3 separate regions of the Homo sapiens genome follow, and all the other regions are linked to region 3. Evidence: promoter capture Hi-C in human tissues and cell types (Jung and others, 2019). All regions are on one chromosome and are shown on one strand. The core of a region is centred on a gene start or on the middle of the fragment in contact, and the rest is flanking DNA. Distances in the headings are between cores, read along the strand shown. Region 1 overlaps PEX7 (peroxisomal biogenesis factor 7). Region 2 has its middle 79 kb from the start of IFNGR1. Region 3 holds the start of IL20RA (interleukin 20 receptor subunit alpha).

What was found. Contacts are between HindIII fragments. The study calls those that stand out against the background at their distance.
Region 1: a fragment that was not itself captured here is called in contact with the fragment with the promoter of IL20RA in region 3 in 1 of the 25 tissues and cell types used here (thymus).
Region 2: a contact is called between a fragment that was not itself captured here and the fragment with the promoter of IL20RA in region 3, in 2 of the 25 tissues and cell types used here (aorta and hippocampus).

Annotation. Positions count from the first base shown.
Region 1 is chr6:136,881,403-136,884,340 of GRCh38, reverse strand. The region is part of intron 8 of PEX7 (peroxisomal biogenesis factor 7); the gene reads right to left. Among named protein-coding and RNA genes, the nearest start is that of SLC35D3, 39 kb to the left of the region's middle. The HindIII fragment of the contact is 3,064 bases long and covers 1-2,836 here.
Region 2 is chr6:137,296,625-137,299,824 of GRCh38, reverse strand. No RefSeq gene overlaps it. Among named protein-coding and RNA genes, the nearest start is that of IFNGR1, 79 kb to the right of the region's middle. RefSeq lists an enhancer at 1,483-2,109. The HindIII fragment of the contact is 3,451 bases long and covers 1-3,200 here.
Region 3 is chr6:137,043,650-137,046,856 of GRCh38, reverse strand. IL20RA (interleukin 20 receptor subunit alpha) reads left to right here and starts at 1,892. Exons shown (of 7, transcript NM_014432.4): 1 at 1,892-2,216. The coding sequence starts at 2,129. RefSeq lists silencers at 2,080-2,139, 2,170-2,279, 2,350-2,399. The HindIII fragment of the contact is 8,751 bases long and covers 1-3,207 here.

The DNA.
Region 1 (2,938 bases), core at 55-2,554, 160 kb after region 3:
ACACTAAAAATATCATCAATCCAATCAGATTTAAAATTCTTCAGAGGATAAATTTAACTCATATCACATGGAGTAAAAATCCACCAAAAATGCACCTTTTCTGACCTTTCCAATCAGTGGTCACCACATTCAAATAATGAGACTAGACTCACACAGGCATTAGAACGATTAAAGTCTTATTCTCGACATGTGTTGAGAATTACAAATATATATACATGTAATATAGTCAAAAGTGAAGGGTTTTCAAATGATTTTGGCTTCCTTTTCTATTTATTTTCCTTGTTACAAGAAAGTCTTCGATAATCCTATATTGGAATATGCAATCACTAGCCTCCAGTTACATTTAGCATGGAGGTGAAACAGTAATTTAGTAGCTACAACGAATGTTAAAATTAAAATTATATTTCTAAAAAAAATGATGTTGCTTCTATATACTGCCTGTGAAGCAATGCTCCACTTCGTACTGGGAAAATGTTTACCAATTTTTCAAGAAAAAGGAGAATTCCAGGTTTTTGGCTTGTTTGAATAGGGATAAGTTTCCCATTAACTGAGATAAATAACACAGATAAACAAGCAAAGAAGGAGTTCAGTGTGAGATTCCTGTTTGGACACTCAGGTGCCTGTGTCCAGAAACAGCTGAATATGCAGGCCTAAGGCTCTCAAGAAAGGCCAGACCTGACACAGGGGCTGGAAATTATCATTTAGAACGGGCATGTAAAAAAAGTTCTAAACCAAAGGGAGACGACCAAGTTTAAGGGGAAGAGAAGGAGACTGATTCTATGATGAACCCTAAGAAGGAAGGGTCAGAGGAGAGTAAGAAAAACAAATAAACAAAAAAGAACATGGAATCCTTAGGATAAGGAGTTTCCAGAAGGGAAGGTATGATCGACGGTGTAAAACAGAAAAAGGTTCAGCATGACAAATGCTGACAAGTGGACTGGATTTGGTTTTACAGAGGTCGCTAGTGGCTTTTGCCAGAGCAATTTCAGTAAAGAAGGAGGGACTGAAGCTAGTTGTGCCATTAGGAAGAACCTTAAGTGCCTATGCCTATAAGCTTTCAAAGGTCTACAAAAATGCCTGAGACCTGAACATTTAAATTAAACTTAAAATAATTAAATTTAAAATTAATAAATTAACATTACTAATTGATAAACCTGGCACTCAGAAACATTTCATTCCACTCGGAAACAATTTCTAGGTTAGGGATGTTTCTTTTTTACTTCACATGAATTCCTTAGCAAGCATAATGATTGCCAAGAAGTCATAATCAATCATAAGTGACTTACTCAATCCAAATCACTTCAAAAGCAAAAGCCACAAATCTTTTCAAAATAATTAACCCTATTTAATCAGTGATGTAGATCCATTTTATAGGTTCTAGTGATCCAGGGTAAGACCTCCAACACAGAGTACGCTGGGACAGTGAAGACCTTAAAATGGCCCTGGTGAATGGAAGCTTATGCGGACACTAAAAGCTTGGCTAAGTAAAAAAGAGAGATGTAAGAGAGGAGTTAAAGGCAAATGCAGGATGAAGGAAAATGTTACAGGCTGAGGAAAAAGTCACTAAAGAGTTGGAGACTAAAGATATAGAGAGATATAGGGGGAGAACAGGTCACTTCACGGCGTAAAGTCCTGAAGAAAACAAGTACGAGGGATCAACAGCACACATGTCTAAGGGATCTAAATAACAGGAGGAATGAAGAGGTACAGATTTAGAGAAAATCTGCAGGCCCAGCTTAGAAATTAAGATAATTTGTGCTTGAGTCCCACAATTATTATTATTATTATTATTTTAAAGGTAAGATCTTTTGCTGAATGTGCAGGGAATAGGGTTGGAAAGATGGCTTTAGAAGAGAGGCAAAGGGCCAGGTGCGGGGGCTCACGCCTATAATCCCAGCACTTTGGGAGGCTGTGGTGGGCAGATCACTTGAGGTCAGGAGTTCGAGACCAGCCTGGCCAACATGGTAAAACCCTGTCTCTACTAAACATACAAAGATTAGCTGGGTGTGGTGATGTGTGCCTGTAGTCCCAGATAGTCAGGAGGCTAAGGTGGGAGAATCGCTTGAACCCTGGAGGTGGAGGTTACAATGAGCCAAGATCACACAACTGCACTGCAGCCTGGGTGACAGAGCAAGACTGTCTCAAAAAAAAAAAAAAAAAAAAAAGAAGAAGAAGAGGGGGAAAAGCAATTAAGAATTATCATAGTATTTTCAAGAACGTCTTCTCATATATTTCTTGTAATCACCCTGTGAGCTTGTGAGCACAGATATCACTAGTTGCCATATTACACATTAATAAAAGAAACCTGGACTCTAAGTTATACACGATCATTGATTTCAAATATCTTCTTAACTTTCTGTTTAACTTACGTTAAAGATCTCCTATTATTGAACTATAAATCTCAATTTTTCCAAGTGCTTACAAATATAGCTACAACACCTTTGATCTGGTCTCAGGACCATGACCTAAGCCACCTCCCTCCCCAGGGGCACTAAATATCTATCCCCCGCTCCCTGTCCTTGCTCAGGACTCAGCATTTAACAGTGGAGAGAAAAGTAAGACTGAAAGCCAAAAACTATGATGATTCTGAGCATGGTTTGATACTCCCAAGATTTTCAGAAATGTAGTTGACATCCAGTCTTAACAAACATTCCTGAGAACAAGGCATTTTCCCACAGGGTGTTTAGGGGTACTTAAATACATAAAACAGGGAGTGGTCAGTCACTAGGATTAAGATCAAAATGACAATTCTGAGAAGAAAGTCTCAGTAGTCATTAGATTTTTCTCTTTAATCAGAAACAAAGCACTGAAATGGATTTAAGATGTCCCAATTAAAACTGTTAAGAATACCAAATATGAGATCACCAAAAGATTAATGTCTCATCTCAGTTTATGCCTTCTTGCTTCAAATGCCAGAAAGGTGTTCGAATTCCAAGAA
Region 2 (3,200 bases), core at 317-2,816, 250 kb before region 3:
CCATGAGCATTTAAAAGCCCAATAGAACCTTCCATACTTTCTCACTGAAGTCCTAAACTCCCCCTCTCCTTTTCTTGCTAGTGGATAAATTGGTGTATAACCTTTTAGCTTTGGACAGACATCTTTCATGAATCCCTGAAGAAAATGAGTCATGTTATTTACATGATAATAACATCTCTTTTAAAAATGAATATTTTAGAATGAGAGAGATAATCAAGAAAAGATTTATCATATTTACTCATTACTAAAGGGGATTTACTTGTTACTAAAGCACTCCCCAGTGTACATGGACATGGTTAATAAACTTGTCATTTCTCCTGTTAGTTTACCTATTGTCCATTAACTCACAGGGCCCCAACAATCCAAGCCTAAAATGGTAGAGGAAAAGTTTCCTCCCAACACTTTCTACACAGGTCACTTCCATTCACACTTCATGGGCCTAAGAAAACTAAGTGGCCAAGCCTAAATTCAAGGGGGTGGGAAAGTGTGTCACTCCATACACCCAGAATTAGAAAATAGCCAGAGATTGATGAACACTTGTAATGTCTACCTCAGTGGGGCTTGGAAAAGAAATGAGCTTCACTCACAACTAAGTTAAAAACAAACTAGGTATAGAATGAGCATAAAAAATCACTCTTCTGGGGGTCATCTGTGTTGTAAAAGATGTATCCTACAGCATGACGGGAGACAGATTTATCTCTTTTCCATAGGTGTATTTCCTAAGCTTTTAGACAGAGGCAGGTACATATATGAAAACAATTGATAGGAAAAGTCTTTAATTCCTAGTCATTCTGAATACCAGTAAAAAGAATAGTATAGGGCAAAAGAAATATCTTTTCTTCCTATCTTAGGTTCATGGCTGAAGCCCCTATAACAAAAGACAGATTAACAAGAGAAATGCATATGAATTTATTTAATAGAAGCTTTACGTGACACAGGAGCCTTTGGATATGAAGATCAAAGAAACAGGTAAACTTGTGCATTTTTATGCTTAGGCTTAATGAAAAGCGAACAGTCATGGGGAAGTATGATTAGAGGACAAGATGGGTGTGATCTAAAGGTAATCATAGCAAGGCCTATTGCTGAGATTTTTCTCAGAGTCCCTGTGTCTTCACAGATAAAGATACTCCTTTCCTCTGGGTACAGAAAAGATACATCTCAAATGAGGGTCTTATGACCTGCTTCAGGGGATGGTAAGAAAATTCTTTCTACTTTCCTAGTCTGCTTCAGAAAAGAAGGTGGGAGAAGTTTCAGGAGGCCTTCCTGCTTCTACAATGTTCTCAGTTTCCCTCAGCTTAAAACACTCAGTATTCCAAGTGCCCCTATATTTAGGGGTAGCATGTCCTGAACGCTCTCATTAGTTTTGATTTGTTGGCTTTCCATAGGGGTTTAAGGAAAACCAGGAAAGAGAAATAAAAGTTGGATGGTAACAGTGAGGGAGGTAGAAAAATTAGAAATTCTTATTCATTCCCTGTAAAAAACTCAGGCTTCAAACCTAGTGGAAGATCTGTTCTTTTACTTGGCTGTTTAAACAGTAGGTTTGTAGGAAAGGATGTAGAACAAGTTGTTATTTGCATCTGGAGAAAGAATTGGTTAAACACTGAATGTTCATGTTTGATATTGTCTGAAAAGTTACTCATGATGTTCCTGTTTGGAAGCTGGGGTAGTCAGGGATGACACACTACGGCTTCCCTATCAGGTTTCCTGTGGTTCAAGAATAAAGGGAACTGCAGGCTTCCCACCAAGCACATACATTTGCAAACTGCCGCGAGTCAGTTCCCAAGGCCAGGGTCTGGCCCTTGACAAAGGCAGCTGAGCGGCAGACTTAGTCTATTTCACTCTCCCTGCCGGGCAGACCCTGCATCTCAGGAAAAGCTACAGGATTCCTTCCTTAGAGAGCTACAGAGCTCATAGTTAGGGGGAATTGTCAGGAATAACTCAATATTTCCTTTCCGTGATAAAAGAAACACTTTCATTAAGGAAATACCTTCAGCAGAGCTTCTCACCCCTGTCTCGCAGAAAGCAAGGAAAATGGAAAAAGAGCTATTTATCACAAATTGGACTTTAAAAACATACTCATTTCTTGATGAGTTTGGTTGGTTCCATAGGGATTACAAGCTTGTGGGCAAGGCTTTTGAATACGTTCAATTCTCAAATCAAGGACTCAATGAAATTCTCAAATTTCATCAAGGACTTAGTATCTAATTAATTCCATCACTGCACTTCTGAAGCTTCCAGCTAGACCTATTAAAATCTGCCTAGATCAATGAATTTATCCCCATGTGTAATTGTAAAATACGTAACCTGAATATATGTTACACAGTGAAACTTCCCTTCACAAGTGTGCTTTTCTGGGCTTCAGCTTTAGATAATATCAGAAGTTACTTGTTTATTCCTCTTCAAAACTCTCAGTGAAACTGGCGAGGCCTAATATGTATAAAATGCTTGCTATGCTGAAAGCCCTGGGCTGCACACATAACAAGGTTGAAATCATTTAATCCTCACCTTCTCCTCTCAACCTCATGAACAGGTACTATTCTTATAGTCATTTTTCAAATGACAAAGCCCTAGGTCACACAGCTAAATCTGGCAGAGAGCTCAAACTGGGAAGCCTGACTTCAGAGCCCATAGCCCTAATCAGCACATTCTATACTTCTAGTTAAGGCAAGATGTTCATTTTCCATAGGATTGACCATCATGCCACAGAGGCCTTTGCGTACTCCTTGAATATTAGAGATACTTGGCTCATAGTGTCCATGAAAAGAGTCAAACTCTGTAAAATTTATTACAGAAGAATATTATTCTGTATTCTGTATTCTGAAGAAATTTATTCTGAGCCAAACATGACTGACTGTGGCCCGTGACACAGCCCTCAGGGGGTCCTGAGAATGTTTGCCCAAGGCGGTTGGGTCCAGCTTGGTTTTACACATTTTAGGAAGACATGAGACTTCAGTCAAATACATTTAAGATGTACATTGGTTCAGTCCAGACAGGTAGGGCTACTCAAAAGGGAGGGATGCTTTCAGGTGGTACGTAGATTTAAAATTTTTCTGGTTGACAATTGGTTGTGTTTATCTAATACCTGGGATCAATAGAAAGGAAATGCCTGGGTTGGGATAAGAGGTTGTGGAGATCAGTTTTATCATAAAGATGAAGCCTCCAGGTAGCAGGCTTCAGAGAGAATAGATTGCAAATGTTTC
Region 3 (3,207 bases), core at 643-3,142:
AGAAAAAGAAAAAGAAAAAGAAAACAATAGTTGCTCTAATTTGAGTGTCGTTTCCCTTTATTGGAGCATTTGAAAACAGACATTTAAGGGCAAAAGAGATGGAACACATCTGAGGTAAATCGTGTATCTATCTTCAGGCTGTGCCCAACCTTTAGAACCACCTAGAAAGGTACAAAGCTGAGAGCCTCTCTCAGATTTTTCATATAGTATTTCAAGACTCACCTCTTAATTGCACCCTTCCCCCCTCCCATTATAAAGAGCATGGAACCTAGGACCCACCGCCTTGTGTGGAAGTCCACACACCACTGGTCACAGGCCACTCACAGGTTTGGGGGACTTCATGATGATTCCTAGACTTTCTGAGTTTCCCTTGCCTCATCTGAAAAAAGGGCCAGGACCTAACTGCAGGTTGTGAGAGTTGAATGAAATCAAATAACAACTTTTCAGTCAGTGACAGACTGCATATACAAAGGTGGTCTCATACGATTATAATAGAGCTGAAAAAATTCCTATTGTCTCTAAAGACCTTCCAGGAGGACAGGATGTGAGGTGGCATCAGTGGCACTGACAATCCTGACCCTGTGCAGGCCTAGGCTAATGTGTGTGGTTGTGCCTTAGTTTATAACAAAAAAGTTTAAAAAGTAAAGAAAAAATAAAGAAAAAGAAAAATTTAAAAATAGAAAAAGCTTATAGAAAGAATACAAAGAAAAAATATTTTCATACTGCTGCACAATGTGTTTGTGTTTTAAGTCAAACGTTATTACAAGTCAAAAAGTTTAGGTCGGGTGTCGTGGTTCACGCCTGTAATCCCAGCACTTTGGGAGGCCAAGGAGGGTAGATCACCGGAGGTCAGGAGCTCGAGACCGGCCTGGCCAACATGGCGAAACCCAGTCTGTACTAAAAATACAAACAAATTAGCCGGGCGTGGGGGCACACACATGTAATCCCAGCTACTCTGGAGGGTGAGACAGGACAATCATCAAAACCGGAAGGCAGAGGTTGCAGTGAGCCGAGATCGCACCACTGCACTCCAGCCTGGGCTACAGAGCAATGCTCCATCTCAAAAATAAATAAATAAATAAAGTTTAAAAGATTTAAAAGTAGAAAGTAAAAAATCATAGTAAGCTAAGGTTAATTTATTATTATTGAAGAAATAATTTTTTAATAAATTTAGCATAGCCTAAGTGTAATACAGTGTTTATACAGCCTATAGTAGTACACAGTGATGTCCTAGGCCTTCACATTGACTCACCACTCACAGACTCAGCCAGAGCGACTTCCAGTCCTGCAAGCTCCATTCATGGAAAGTGCCCTATACAGGTGTACCATTTTTAAAATCTTTCATACTGTACTTTTGCTGTACCTTTTCTACGTTCAGACATGTTTAGATACACAAATATTTACCATTGTGTTACAATTGCTTGCAGTATTCAGTATGGTCACTTGCCGTACAGGTTTGTAGCCTAGGAGCAAACAACAGCCTGTACCATATAGCGTAGGCGTGTAAGAGGCTATACCATATAGGTGTGAGTACACTCTAAGATGTTCACACAAGAAACTCGCCTAAGACATTTCTCAGGAGGTAATCCTGTCATCTTAAATGATGCATGACTGTAAGATCTACGGCTGAGTGCCTAACTGTATATCGAGAAATAACGCTCTATTTCATCCGTCTTCCGATATTGAACTTTAACTGACCATCAGACCGGCCTGAATACCAGAATCTCTTTGCAATGCACTCGCCTCGCTCATTACCAGAAGGAGGTTTTACCTGCCTAGTGACCTGGTTGGTCTGGGCATGAACCCCGAGAGGTGGAAACTCTCAGACTCTCAGGACTGACAGCCGAGTGGCTGGGGACTATAAATCCGCGAGAACTGCCCTCGCGCTGCCATCCAGCTGGGTAGCCGGGGGAGCGCGCGTGGGGGCTCCGCGAGTCGCTCGCCCTTGGTTTCTGGGGAAGCCTGGGGGACGCGGCTGTGGCGGAGGCGCCCTGGGACTCAGGTCGCCTGGAGCGTGGCACGCAGAGCCCCAGGCGCGGAGCTGAGGCCGCGCGGCCGCGCTTGGCCCCAGCGGGCGTGGGACTGAGCAGTCTGCTGCCCCCCGACATGTGACCCAGCCCCGCCGCCCATGCGGGCTCCCGGCCGCCCGGCCCTGCGGCCGCTGCCGCTGCCGCCGCTGCTGCTGTTGCTCCTGGCGGCGCCTTGGGGACGGGCAGGTAGGTGGGTCGCGCCGCCAGGTGCGGGTCGGGGATGCCTCCAGGCCGGGGCCCCGCCAGGCAGAGCTCGAGGCCGAGCTCTCCCCTCCTGCCCGCCGGCCAGGTTTCGCTTTCGGGCGGGCAGAGGACGAGGTGCGCGGAGGCCGGAGCTTCCAGCCCCGGGGCTGCAGGGAGCCCGGGGGACACTCGCCGTCGCCTCGCGCACCTTGGCTCGGGGTCAAGTTTGCAGGACTCCGCGCTCCGCACTTTCGGTCTCGAGAATTGAGGTGGGGTGGGGGGAGTTCGGTGGGGGGTGCGCTCTGCGCGGTGCCCACAGCCTATGACTTGCGGTCGGGGACGGTTACCATGCGGGGCCCCTCGCCGGCCAGTCCCAGGTTCCCGCCACCACCGCCGCGGCCGCGCGGAGGGGCCCCTGTGGATGCCGCGTCTCGGCCGCCGGGCCCCGCAGTCCTGCAAGCCGCGCGTCGCGAGATCCGCGCTTTAAAAGCCAAACTCCCCGAAAGGGTCAGCCCCGAAGGAACATGATCCAGAAAGACGCAGCTTCTTAAAGTAAGCTCCCCCTGTCCTGGGTACGCCGTTGTTTCCTTTGCAGTTATGACCATGTACAGATAGTGCTCTTTGATTTTTCAGAAATAACAAAACTTTTAACTCGTTTACGACATAAGGTAACTGAAGAGCTCTTTCGTTTTGTTTGGTTTTTAAGTTTAAATTCTCTACCAATTGGAATCCAGTAAACCAGAATGATTCATTAACCTGATTGCTTTTTTTCCCTGTATTTCTCGTACATGAGAAAAAGATTTTTTAAAAAAACAAAAAAGATATCCGGGATCCCTTTTTAAAAAAATTATTTTAAAAAACAACAACAAAGCTTCTCCAAATACTGTGCTTTGTAGACACTTCGTTCAGGCCCCGCTGTCTTTTAACCCAGAACTGAACAGTAAGAGTGAATGCAGGAAGAAAGTTGACGGTGAATCTGGAGTCCTTGGTAGTT